2 separate regions of the Homo sapiens genome follow, and region 1 is linked to region 2. Evidence: promoter capture Hi-C in human tissues and cell types (Jung and others, 2019). All regions are on one chromosome and are shown on one strand. The core of a region is centred on a gene start or on the middle of the fragment in contact, and the rest is flanking DNA. Distances in the headings are between cores, read along the strand shown. Region 1 overlaps PAXBP1 (PAX3 and PAX7 binding protein 1). Region 2 holds the start of IFNGR2 (interferon gamma receptor 2).

Evidence for each region. Contacts are between HindIII fragments. The study calls those that stand out against the background at their distance.
Region 1: a fragment that was not itself captured here is called in contact with the fragment with the promoter of IFNGR2 in region 2 in 1 of the 25 tissues and cell types used here (dorsolateral prefrontal cortex).

What each region holds. Positions count from the first base shown.
Region 1 is chr21:32,745,285-32,751,157 of GRCh38, reverse strand. It overlaps PAXBP1 (PAX3 and PAX7 binding protein 1), which reads left to right. Exons shown (of 18, transcript NM_016631.4): 9 at 1-39; 10 at 126-241; 11 at 2,460-2,659; 12 at 5,440-5,584. Among named protein-coding and RNA genes, the nearest start is that of PAXBP1-AS1, 20 kb to the right of the region's middle. The HindIII fragment of the contact is 5,225 bases long and covers 1,755-5,873 here.
Region 2 is chr21:33,398,880-33,404,662 of GRCh38, reverse strand. IFNGR2 (interferon gamma receptor 2) reads right to left here and starts at 1,250. Exons shown (of 7, transcript NM_005534.4): 1 at 1,047-1,250. The coding sequence starts at 1,119. RefSeq lists cis regulatory regions at 151-651, 1-680, 1,248, 1,525, 1,535 and 2 more, silencers at 682-731, 872-921, 942-1,021, 1,032-1,571 and promoters at 1,126-1,530, 1,125-2,292, 1,664-2,302, 1,146-2,302. The HindIII fragment of the contact is 6,342 bases long and covers 1-4,510 here.

The sequences.
Region 1 (5,873 bases), core at 3,118-5,617, 660 kb after region 2:
GCATGCAAAACGTCGCATTGCAGAGCGGGAGGCCAGGAGGTAATTCTCAAAACCCTTGCTCTGGCTTGTTTGGGAAGGGAGGAGTCTCTGTTATCTAGTTTGGGAACTTGATGTTTATTATTTAGGACTCGTCGTAGACAAGCCAGAGAACAAACCGGTAAGATGGCAGATCACCTTGAAGGCCTTTCCAGTGATGATGAAGAAACTTCTACAGATATTACTAATTTCAATCTGGAAAAAGGTTAGACATTTATTTGGAAATAAGACTCATCATCAGTTTAGTTTCTACTTGGGTATGGTTTTTACCATGAAATGATTTGAATCTTCATGGTCTCTGCATTAGAACCAGACACTTCTTTTTTAATTGCAGAAATTTGCATGCCTTTTTATTAGTGAATATCATGATGAATTCTCAAAAATAGGGGTAACATCTTCTCATAGGGTGTACTTAGTATTTGCATAATAAATGTTGTTACTGTTCCAAATGGTAGAATTTTAAGTGACTGGAAATGTGTCAGGTCCTTGAGGGCAGCTCTCATTGCAGCCTGTCTGGTCTGGAAAGGTAAAGCTTGGCAGTAGAGCACTCAGCCCTGAAGGAAACTCTTGATTTGGGGAGTCATAAGTAATCTCACCTTAGAGGAATGGTTAGTACTATTATGTGCCAGGCATTTTCAGAAGGATCCCAAATAAAAGTCTTCATTTCCCACCATTGGCTATAATTGTTTGGAATTATATCAATTGCACACCATTTGGAACTTAGTTGGAGAAGCTTCTTTCTCTTACTTTTTTTACAGTGAACATTTCTAAACAAAATTTGAAAGACTAGCACAGTGATCATCCACATACCTATCACTCAGATAACAATGCTTATGATTTCACCAAGTTTGCCTGGCTCTTTATACAAGGAGATGTGTGTGTTTGCTGAACCATTTGAAAGTAACTTACAGACCTCATGGCTCTTCACTCCCCAAAATTTCAGAGTGTGTTTCCTCTAAATGAGTATATTTTTCTGTATAATCACAGTATTATTATCTTTTTTCTTTTTGTTAGATGCCTATTCTGATTAAGTATTTCTTTTTTTAGCACAATAAGAAAACAGATTTCTTAATATCATGTCCATATATAATTTTTCTCAATGGCATCCTGGAAAAACCCTTTTTAGGAACTATTTTTATGGGTTATTTTGTGGTTTTTGAAACCAGGATCCACCTAAGGTTCATGCTCTGCATTTGGTTATGACATTTTTAAATCTGGAATAAATGAGTAACCCTAAGTACACATTCACACACCCACCCCTATTGTTCTTTAAATTTTTGAAGAGACCAGGCCACTTCTCTTATAGACTGTCCTATATTCTAGACTGGTCTGTATGTTTCCTCATAGCATTGTTTAACTTGTTCTTTGATCCATTTCTTGTAAACTGGAATTTAGGTCTGAAGGCTTAATTAGATTTAAGTTAAACTTTTTTTTTTTCTTCCCCAAGAATAATTTATACAGGATGCTGTTTCATACTGCTTAAAAGCACATGACAAATGTTAGACTGTCCCCACTATTAGCAATGTTAAGATTGATCTTGCAGTAAAGGTTCTCAGAACTTTATCTCTCCATTGTAAATATTTCCTTTTCCCAAGTAATCTGGGACATCATAAGAGTATCTTATTCTTGGTTGGGCACAGTGGCTCACACCTGTAATCCCAGCACTTTGGGAGGCCGAGGCAGCGGACCACTTGAAGTCAGGAATTCGAGACCAGCCTGGCTCACATGATGAAACTCCATCTCTACTAAAAATACAAAAATTAGTTGGGCATGGTGGCGCATACCTGTAATCCCAGCTACTCAGGAGGCTGAGGCAGGAGAATCACTTGAACCTGGGAGGCAGAGATTGCAGTGAGCTGAGATCGCACCACTTCACTCCAGCCTGGGTGACAGAGTGAGAATCTGTCTCAAAAAAAAAAAAAAAATCTTATTCGCAAATAACTTTTCACTTAAAGTTCCTAGCATCCATTCAGCTGATAGTTGGCTATGTCAGTTATTATAATCACCAACAGAGTTTGAATGAAGCAATGTGATTAGTGACTGATTATGATGCACAGCTGTTAATCTGTGCAGTGATCTGTGAACTAAAAAGCTAGCGGCACAATTACTTATGGCTAATACACCGTAGTAACTGAAATTTGAACCATCTTGTTTGGGAACAGGTTTTATTTAGCCAAACTGTGGTAGAAAAATTGTATATACTGGAACTGCAAAACAAGGACTGGCTGCACTTTAGTTTACATAATAGACAAATTGAAACTTCAATTTATTTTTTTCTTCTAAATTGTGACTAACAATTGGCCCTTTGTTAATGAGCGTATCTTCTGATACTGAAGCTACAAAGAAAACACTGAAAATATTGGACTGTTTTTTTCCTACTTCATACTAATGTATGGTTCTCTGTGGGGTTTTGTTGTTTTTAGATCGAATTTCAAAAGAATCCGGCAAAGTTTTTGAAGATGTCCTTGAAAGTTTCTATTCAATTGACTGTATTAAATCACAGTTTGAAGCATGGCGTTCAAAATACTACACATCCTACAAAGATGCTTACATTGGCCTTTGTTTGCCAAAATTATTCAACCCCCTCATACGACTTCAGCTCCTCACTTGGACTCCTCTTGAGGTGAGTGGCTTCTGTCACTATTAGAAAGTGTTATAATTTGATATCTGGGTAATTTTAATCTCAAAGCTAGAGATGTAAGCTTAAGCAAAATATTTTGCAGGGGTGATAGGGCATAGGCTATAATTGATAGATTGTATCTGGTTATAATCTTATGATCTTTCCTTTTAAGTTTCATGTCTTCCCAGCAGAGCTATGTGTTTTTTTTGTTGTTGTTGTTGTTTTTTCAGTTTACATATAATCCTTTTTTCAGCCAGCTGAAATTATATGCAGTAACACTGGGATATGAACATGAATAGTAAGAACTTGGTCCTTTGATCCTAGAGGAACTCAGAACCAGATGGGAAAGCACAATGAGGCAGGTGTGAAATGAGGACATGACCCAAGTCAGTTGTCATGGTGAGAAAAATTGATAGGCCAGGCATGGTGGCTCATGCTTGTAATCCCAACAGTTTGGGAGGCCAAGGCGGGAGGATTGTTTGAGCTCAGGAGTTCAAGACCAGCCTGGGCAACATAGCAAGACCTTGTCTCTACTTAAAAAAAAAAAAAAAAAATTAGCTGTGGTGGCATGTGCTCATATTCCTAGCTACTTCGGGGGCTGAGGCAGGATTGCTTGAGCCCGGGAGATCAAGGCTGTAATGAGCTATGATTGTGCCACTGCACTGCAGCCTGGGTGATAGAACAAGACCTGCCACAAGAAAAAAAAAAAAAGATAAGGAGGTGGAATCAAGAGGACCTATTGGCCTGTCATATAAGGGAGGGGGCTAGAATTGACTCTGGAGGTCTAGTGGTGATGTTTACAATGTGGTTTTAGAAGTTACCAACGTGGGTGAAGCTGTAGACATGGTTGAGATTGGCTAGGTTGAATTTGTGAACTATAAGGAAAAGGGAGCTGAGGTTGATGCCATGGAAACACAACTGAAAAAAATGTGAGCTCTGAGAAGCATTCAGCTCACAGCTCCTATTTCCTGTGTGCTCTTGGCCAGACCTTCTGAAGTTTTGCTGTGTGCATGAGTGTCTTGGTAGATAGCAAAGGCCCAAGACTGTATTTTGGAGTTATTTTTCTGTGTCCCCCACTCCTCTGCCCCACAGTTTCCAGCTGTGTCAGCCTTCCTGAGCTCCACCCTCTGTCTCCTCCACTCAGCAAAACTGCTCTGCTGTCCTGAACTAGCATCTCACCTCATTTGATTCCTTTCTTTAAAGGGTCATAGTCTTGTGCTGCCTATGGTCCATTGTATTTTGTCCAGTTCTTTTTTATTTTCTTTGGCTTTTAAGTTCCAGGGTACATGTGCAGATTTGTTACATAGGTAAACATGTGACATGGTGGTTTACAGCACAGATCAACCCATCACCTTGGTAGGAAGCCTAGCATCCAGTAGCTGTTGTTGCTCTCCCTCCCCCAAGTCCCCACCCCCACCCCCCAACAGGCCTCAGTGTGTGTTTTTCCCCAGTATGTGTCCATATATTCTCATTGTTCAGCTCCCACTTGCGAGAACATGTGGTGCTTGGGTTTCTGTTCCTGCGTTAGTTTGCTGAGGATAATGGCTTCTAGCTCCATCCATGTCCCTGCAAAGGACATGACCTCGTTCCTTTTTATGGCTGCATAGTATTCCATGGTGTATATGTATAACATTTTCTTTATCCAGTCTATAATTGATGGGCATTTGGGTTGATTCCATGTCTTTGCTATTGTGAATAGTGCTGCAGTGAACATACATATGCATGTAGCTTTATAATAGAATGATTTATATTTCTGTAGGTATATACCCAGTAATGGGATTGCTGGGTCAAATGGCATTTCTGCTTCTAGATCTGTGAGGAATTGGCACACTGTCTTCCTTACACTCCCACCAATAGTGTAAAAGTGTTCCTTTTTCTCTGAAACCTTACCAGCATCTTTTGTTTCTGGACTTTTAAATAATTCCCATTCTGATTGGCATGGGATGGTATCTCATTGTGGTTTAGATTTGCATTTCTCCAATCATCGGTGATGTTGAGCTTTTTTTCATGTTTGTTGGCTACATGAATGTCTTCTTTTGAGAAGTATCTGTTCATGTCCTTTGCCCACTTTTAATGGGGTTGTTTTTTTCCTATAAAGTTTCCTGTAGACTCTGGATATTAGACCTTTGTCAGATGGATAGATTGCAAGAATTTTCTCCCATTCTGTAGGTTGTCTGTTCACTCTGATAATAGTTTCTTTTGCTGCGTAGAAGCTCTTTAGTTGAATTAGATACCATTTGTCAATTTTTGCTTTTGTTGCAGTTGCTTTTGGTGTTTTTGTCGTGAAATCTTTGCCCATGCCGATGTCTTGAATGGTATTGCCTAGATTTTCTTCTAGGATTTTTATAGTTTTGGGGTTTACATTTAAGTCTTTAATCCATCTTGACTTAACTTTTGTATATGGTGTAAGGAAGGAGCCCAGTTTCAATTTTCTGTATATGGCTAGCCAATTCTCCCAACACCATTTATTAAACAGGGAATCTTTTCCCCATTGCTTGTTCGTGTCAGGTTTGTCGGAGATCAGATGGTTGTAGGTGTGCGGTCTTATTGCTGAGTTCTCTATTCTGTTCCATTGGTCTATGTGTCTGTTTTTGTATCAGTACCATGCTGTTTTGGTTACTGTGGCCTTATAGTTTGAAGTCTGGTAGCATGATATCTCCAGCCGTCCAGTTTTTAGTTGTTTGCAACCAAAGGTTAAATCCAGTTCTTGTTTCTCTTATCATAGCTGGAAGCAGAAATAGCCACTATTTTAGTATTTGGGTAACCTTTTAAATGTCTTTTAGGCAAAATGTCGTGACTTTGAGAATATGCTGTGGTTTGAATCTTTGCTGTTTTATGGTTGTGAAGAACGAGAGCAAGAAAAAGATGATGTAGATGTTGCCCTACTACCTACCATTGTGGAAAAGGTGATTCTTCCTAAACTAACAGGTAAATCTCCTGTTCTCTGAATTGAGCATTCAGACACACTGGCTTTCTCAAATCTATTTTTATGAGTTTATAATTCAGAGCATGTTTCCTTATAGAAATTACATGAGAAATAATAGTTACCACCTGGCCCAGAGATGGCTAGAGGGCAGAGGGGTTCTTATCCTGGGACTTGAAGACCACTTTAGGGTGGGCCTGTAGTTGAGTGCAGTAATTGCTTCATAGGTGAGGTTTAGAAATTCAAAGACTGACTGAAGCAAAATTATACAGAGTTTGAGGGAGGAGGATATGC
Region 2 (5,783 bases), core at 1-2,500:
GAGCTCAGGAGTACAAGAACAGCCTGGGCAACACAGTGAGACCTCCTCTCTACAAAAAATACAAAAATTGGCCAGGCGTGGCCAATAATACCACCTTCTTGGGAGGCTGACGTGGGAGGATCGCTTGAGCACGGGAGGCGGAGGCTGCAGTAGCTGAGATGCTGCCCACTGCACTCCAGCCTGGGCGACAGAGCGACACCCTGTCTCAAACAACAATAAAATAAATAAATGCCTGGCTCAGTTGACACTCTTCCTCTTCCGCCCCAACACTGATGGGACCCGGACAGTTCTGAGCCCTGCCTGAATGCTGCTGCCCCATCTCTATGACCGCGGGAACTGTCTAGATTTCACACCCAGTGTCAAACATGCCCTCGGCCAAAGTCGGAATTGAGTCTGGGTCACCCGTCCAAGACGCTGGTCCCTGCTCCACCGCTGCTACTACAAAGGGACTGAGTCTAGCTTCCAGCCAGGCCTTCGGGAGGCACTCCAGGCGGGGACTAAGCGCAGTCTCGCCAGGCTGCAGAACCAGTGGCCAGCAAAGGCGGCCCCCGCCGGAGCCCTGGATTCAATTTGCTGTTGTTCATTCCGAGAAATTCGGAGACTGGGGCCACGCTGGCTTTCCCGGCGCGGGCGCGCGGGTGGGGGAGGTGGCGCAGCCGAGGTTACCGGCTTCACGGAGGGGCACCGAGTGTCCTCTCCCGGAGAGGGGTGTCCCGGCGGCCAGGACGCCAGGAGGGGTGCCCCCCGTCTTCCTGCTGCTGCCCAGCTCCTGTCTGGAACTCCTGGCCGCCCATCCCAGCCCCGCTGCGGGCTCCCAGCGGGCCCCTCTAGCCCTGGGCACCCCGCAAGACCCCCACCTGGGGCACCCGCAGGTTCCCACCTGATCTGAGCACTCCGCATATCCCACCCACCAGGAGCACCCCGCAGATTCCCACCCACTCTGAGCACCCGGCAGATTCCCCCCACCCCACGATCCGGGAGTCCCCCAGCCCCCACATGCTGCGGCTGCGCCCGCGTCCCGCCGCGGAGGCCCAGGCCCGGCTCACCTGGCGGGGCCGCGGCGGCGGCGGCGAAGACTCCGAGCAGCAGCAGCAGCGACCACAGCAGCGTCGGTCGCATGGCCCCGGGCGCTCGGCGGCGGCTCAGGTCGCGGCCGGGGCCCCGCTCGGGGTCCGCGGAGCCGCTCACGTCGCCGCCCAAACCGCCATGGCGAGCGCAGGGCGCGCAGGGCCCGCCTCTTCCCGAGCAGCAGCGGGGCGTCCCGGTGGAGGGGATTCGGCTCGGCCGCCCGCGCCCCCGCCCCCGCCCCGTCCCGCCCCCGAGGCCACCGCCCCCGCGCGGGACTTTCCCGCTCCGGGAACCGCGGCCCTGGGGGGCCTCTGCGGCTGCAGCGCGGGGACCCCACGCAGCCGGCCTCCCAGAGCGCGGAGCCTCCCGGAACGTCCTGGAGACTGGAGCCCCGCGGGACGCCCACCTTCGGGGGCCGCGATCCTTCCGGAAGGGCCCCGCGAGACCCCGGCCCAGACCCCCGGGCTTTCCCTGGAGCCCCCACCCCTCCTGACCCCCCCCAACTCTCCTCTCGGGTGCTTGATCGCACAATTCGAGGATTCGCCCCTTTAGTCGAAATGTTTGCTTTAATAGCCCCCAAAGTACATATTAAGCTTTCAACTCTCCCCCGCCCCCCTCCCCTTTTTTTTGAGACGGAGTCACCAGGCTGGAGTGCAGTGGGGCGATCTCGGCTCACTGCAACCTCCGCCTCCAGTCAACCCCATTTTGAAAAGGGTTTTAAGGGGAAGGAGTTAGAAAGGGCCCAGTGAAGGAGGAGGTGGGGCTCTGGGGGTGGGGGGAATGGCCTCCGAGCAGGGGGAGGGAGAGACAGAAACTTCCAGCATTTCTAAATGGCGTGGGGTTTGCCCTGGAGCCGGCGGCGGTGCACGAGTAGGAAGTCCTTTAGCAGCTGGGCAGCCGCAGGCCCGCTCCCCAGCCCGAGCCTGCACCATGTCGTTTGACGCCTGTTGGGAGAGGGTTTTAAATCTGCCCTGTTCTTCCAAGATGCGTCATAAAGCTAGCGCAGCAAAGGAGGGACGCGGTGCAGGGAGACCAAGAATTTAAAAACAGGTCGTCCCGGGAGCCCACTGGACACGTTAGCAAAAATGGGTTTTGCAACATAGAGCTTTTCTTTTGCTCTTCCCACATTCTTGCATTTCCTCTTTGTAGAACTATTTTGAAATTGGCCACGCTCGTGAAAATACGTGATGAAATACCTCGCAGACAATTGAATTATGCATTGGATATTTCTAGATACAGAGATGTATTTATATGTTACACGAAAAAAGCGGGCGATAACTTGGAATCACTTCAAAAAGTATGCACTGATGCCAGGCGCGGTGGCTCACGCCTGTAATCTCAGCACTTTAGGAGGCCGAGGTGGGCGGATCACATGAGGCCAGGAGTTGGAGACCAGCCTGGCCAATATGGCTGAAACCCGTCTCTACTAAAAATACAAAAATTAGTCAGGCGTGGTGGCCGGCGCCTGTAATCCCAGCTACTTGGAGGGCTAAGACAGGAGAATCACTTGAACCCGGGAGGCGGAGGTTGTAGTGAGCGGAGATTGCGCCACTGCACCCCGGCCTGGGTGACAGACCGAGACTCCGTCTCAAAAAAAAAAAAAAAAAAAAAAAAAAAAAAAAAAAAAAAAGGCACTGAAAATGACAGGATTGCAAGAAGGATTCTGTTTTCAAACAAATAAATAAAATTACAAGAAAACGACTGGGTGAAAGATGCCAACATTCTAACAAGAAATCGGTTACAGGATCACACAAGTGTCATCCGCCTCAGGGGATGTAACCGAATGCTGGTTCAGTCGCTGGCTGCTTGCAGAGTCTAACAAGAGCAAGATGTGGTGGAAAGAAAGTGACTTTATTTCCAAAGCTAGCAAGGGGAAGTGGTTGGATTCCTATCCCCAAAGCAATCACGTTGAATTGTGGGGTATGGGGAGTGGGAAAGGCAAGGGTTATTTATTTTATTTATTTATTTATTTATTTATTTATTTATTTATTTATTTATTTGAGACAGAGTCTCCGTCACCCAGGCTGGAGTGCAGTGGTGTGATCTCCGCTCACTGCAAGCTCCGCCTTCTGGGTTCACACCATTCTCCTGCCTCAGCCTCCCGAGTAGCTGGGACTGCAGGCGCACGCCACCACACCCGGCTAATTTTTTGTGTTTTTTGTAGAGATGGGTTTTCACCGTGTTAGCCAGGTTGGTCTCGATCTCCTGACCTCGTGATCTGCCTGCCTCGGCCTCCCAAAGTGCTGGGATTACAGGCGTGAGCCACCGCGCCCGGCCAAGGCAAGGGTTTAAAACGGGAAAACGATGTGGAAGTCAGGCAAGGATTATGCTAAGTACACTGTCTGTTTGTCTTGTTCCGGTGGCTGTCTTGGGTCCTAGTCCACAGGAAGCCTGTGGTCTGGCATCATCTCAACAATGGCTGGATTCTTAATTAGACGCCTTGAGGTCACATGTGGAATTTTGCAGAAGAATCTCCAGGCTTGGTCTGTCTGTCTCAAGATTAGCGTCTGGAACCTCTAAGAAGGCACGTAACTAGACACGGGCATACAGTTAGATAAATGTGAAGGGAGTTTATACGGTGAAGAAGGGAGGGACATGGAGTCCATTTTAAGGCTAAGGGAAAAGGCTTCTGCAGTTTGTTTCAAGGTTACATCTTTGATGGCTGGGTGCGGTGGCTCACGCCTCTAATCCCAGCGCTTTGGGAGGCTGAGCCAGGTGGATCACCTGAGATCAGGAGTTCAAGACCAGCCTGGCCAACATGGTGAAACTCGTCTCTACTAAAAATACAAAAATTAGCCAGGCGTGGTGGCATGTGCCTGTAATCCCTGCTACTTGGGAGGCTGAGACAGGAGAATCACATGAACCCAGGAGGTGGAGGTTGCCGTGAGCTGAGATCATGCTGCTGCACTCTAGCCTGAGCCACAGAGCAAGACTCTGTCTCAAAAAAAAAAAAAAAATTGTAACCTGTATATCATTCTAAAGAAATACTTTTGGCCAGATGTGGTGGCTCACACCTGTAATTCCAGCACTTTGGGAGGCCGAGGTGGGTGGATCACCTGAGGTCAGGAGTTCAAGACCAGCCTGGCCAACATGGTGAAACCCCATCTCTACTAAAAATAGAAAAATTAGCCAGGCATAGTGGCAGGTGCCTGTAATCCCAGCTACTTGGGAGGCTGAGGCATGACAATTGCTTGAACCTGGGAGATGGAGGTTGCAGTGAGCTGAGACAGCACCACTGCACTCCAGCCTGAGTGCAGAGTAAGGCTCCATCTCAAAAAAAAAAAAAAAAGAAAAGAAAAAGAAATACTTTTGTGCCTAATTTTATAGTGAGTTGTGTATTTGTTTATAAAGAGGGCTCCATCTATTATATACACTTCAGCCCTACAAACCCTGAATCTGCACCATCCCTTTCCATTAATTCCTTACCTTGTAATCAGTTGATCTTCCTGAAGCATTTCTAATAGCCTAGAGGGACTCCTCTCACCTCCCTCAGGAGAGTGGGTGGGGGATGGCAGAAAGAAGCCAACATTTTTTGCTGGCCAGTGGTGCTTCTCTAGGTATTATAACACTCAGACCTCCCAGTTAGGCAGGCGATGGCTGTCCCATGGGGACACTAGCAGAGTTCAGTGACTTGGCCTGTGGTGGGTTTGCACTGCAGTAGGTCTGCTAAACTGTAACTGCATTTCCTAGAATTCCCCTCCCTGAAAAGTTCTGAGGTAACATGGGCAGGGAAGGATGTTTGTGTGTGTCTTGGTCCATTTTCTGTTGCTTATAACAGAATATCTGAAGCTGGGTAATTGATAAAGAAAAGGCATTTATTTCTTACATTTTGGGAGGCTGAGAAGTCCAAGGTCTAGGGACTAAATCTGGTGAGGGCCTTCTTGCTGGTGGAGATTCTCTGCAGAGTCATGAGGTGGTCAGGGCATCACATGGCAAGGGGGGCTGAGGGTGCTAAGGTGCTCGGATTTATCTTCCTCTTTTTTTTTTTTTTCTTTTGAGATGGAGTATCACTCTGTTGCCTAGGCTGGAGTGCAATGGTGCAATCTTGGCTCACTGCAACCTCTGCCTCCTGGGTTCAAGCAATTTTCCTGCCTCAGCCTCCCAAGTAGCTGGGATTACAGGCACCTGCCACCACACCCGGCTAATTTTTGTATTTTTAGTAGAGTTGGTGTTTCACCTGTTGCCCTGGTCTTGAACTACTGACCTCAAGTGATCCACCTGCCTCGGCCTCCCAAAGTGTTGGGATTACAGGAGTGAGCCACCATGCCCATCCCCTCTTTTATAAAGCCACCAGCCCCACTCCCATGATAACCATTGGTCCATGAACCCATTAGTCCATGAATGAATCCACCCATCCATGAGGGCAGGATCACCATAACCAATCACCTCTGAAAGGCCTCATTCCTCCATACTGCCATATTGGGAATCAAATTTCCAGCACGTGAAATTTGGGGACACATTCAAACCCTAGCAATGTGCGAGACTTGGAAGATGGAAGGAAAGGTGCAGCCATATTCCTTTACCCTTGGGAGGCTGGGGCAGGGCACAAGGCATCCATCTTTGCAGCTCCCGACCTGTGGCTTCTCTGCTGATGTCCTAGATGGCAGGGATGCAGACAGGCTCCAGGCTCCTCCAGCTCCCCGTGGATCTCATGTGGTCGTGTAAGCTGGAGGTGTGGAGATGGAGAGCAGGGTGAGGAGGGTGGCAGCTGAGCC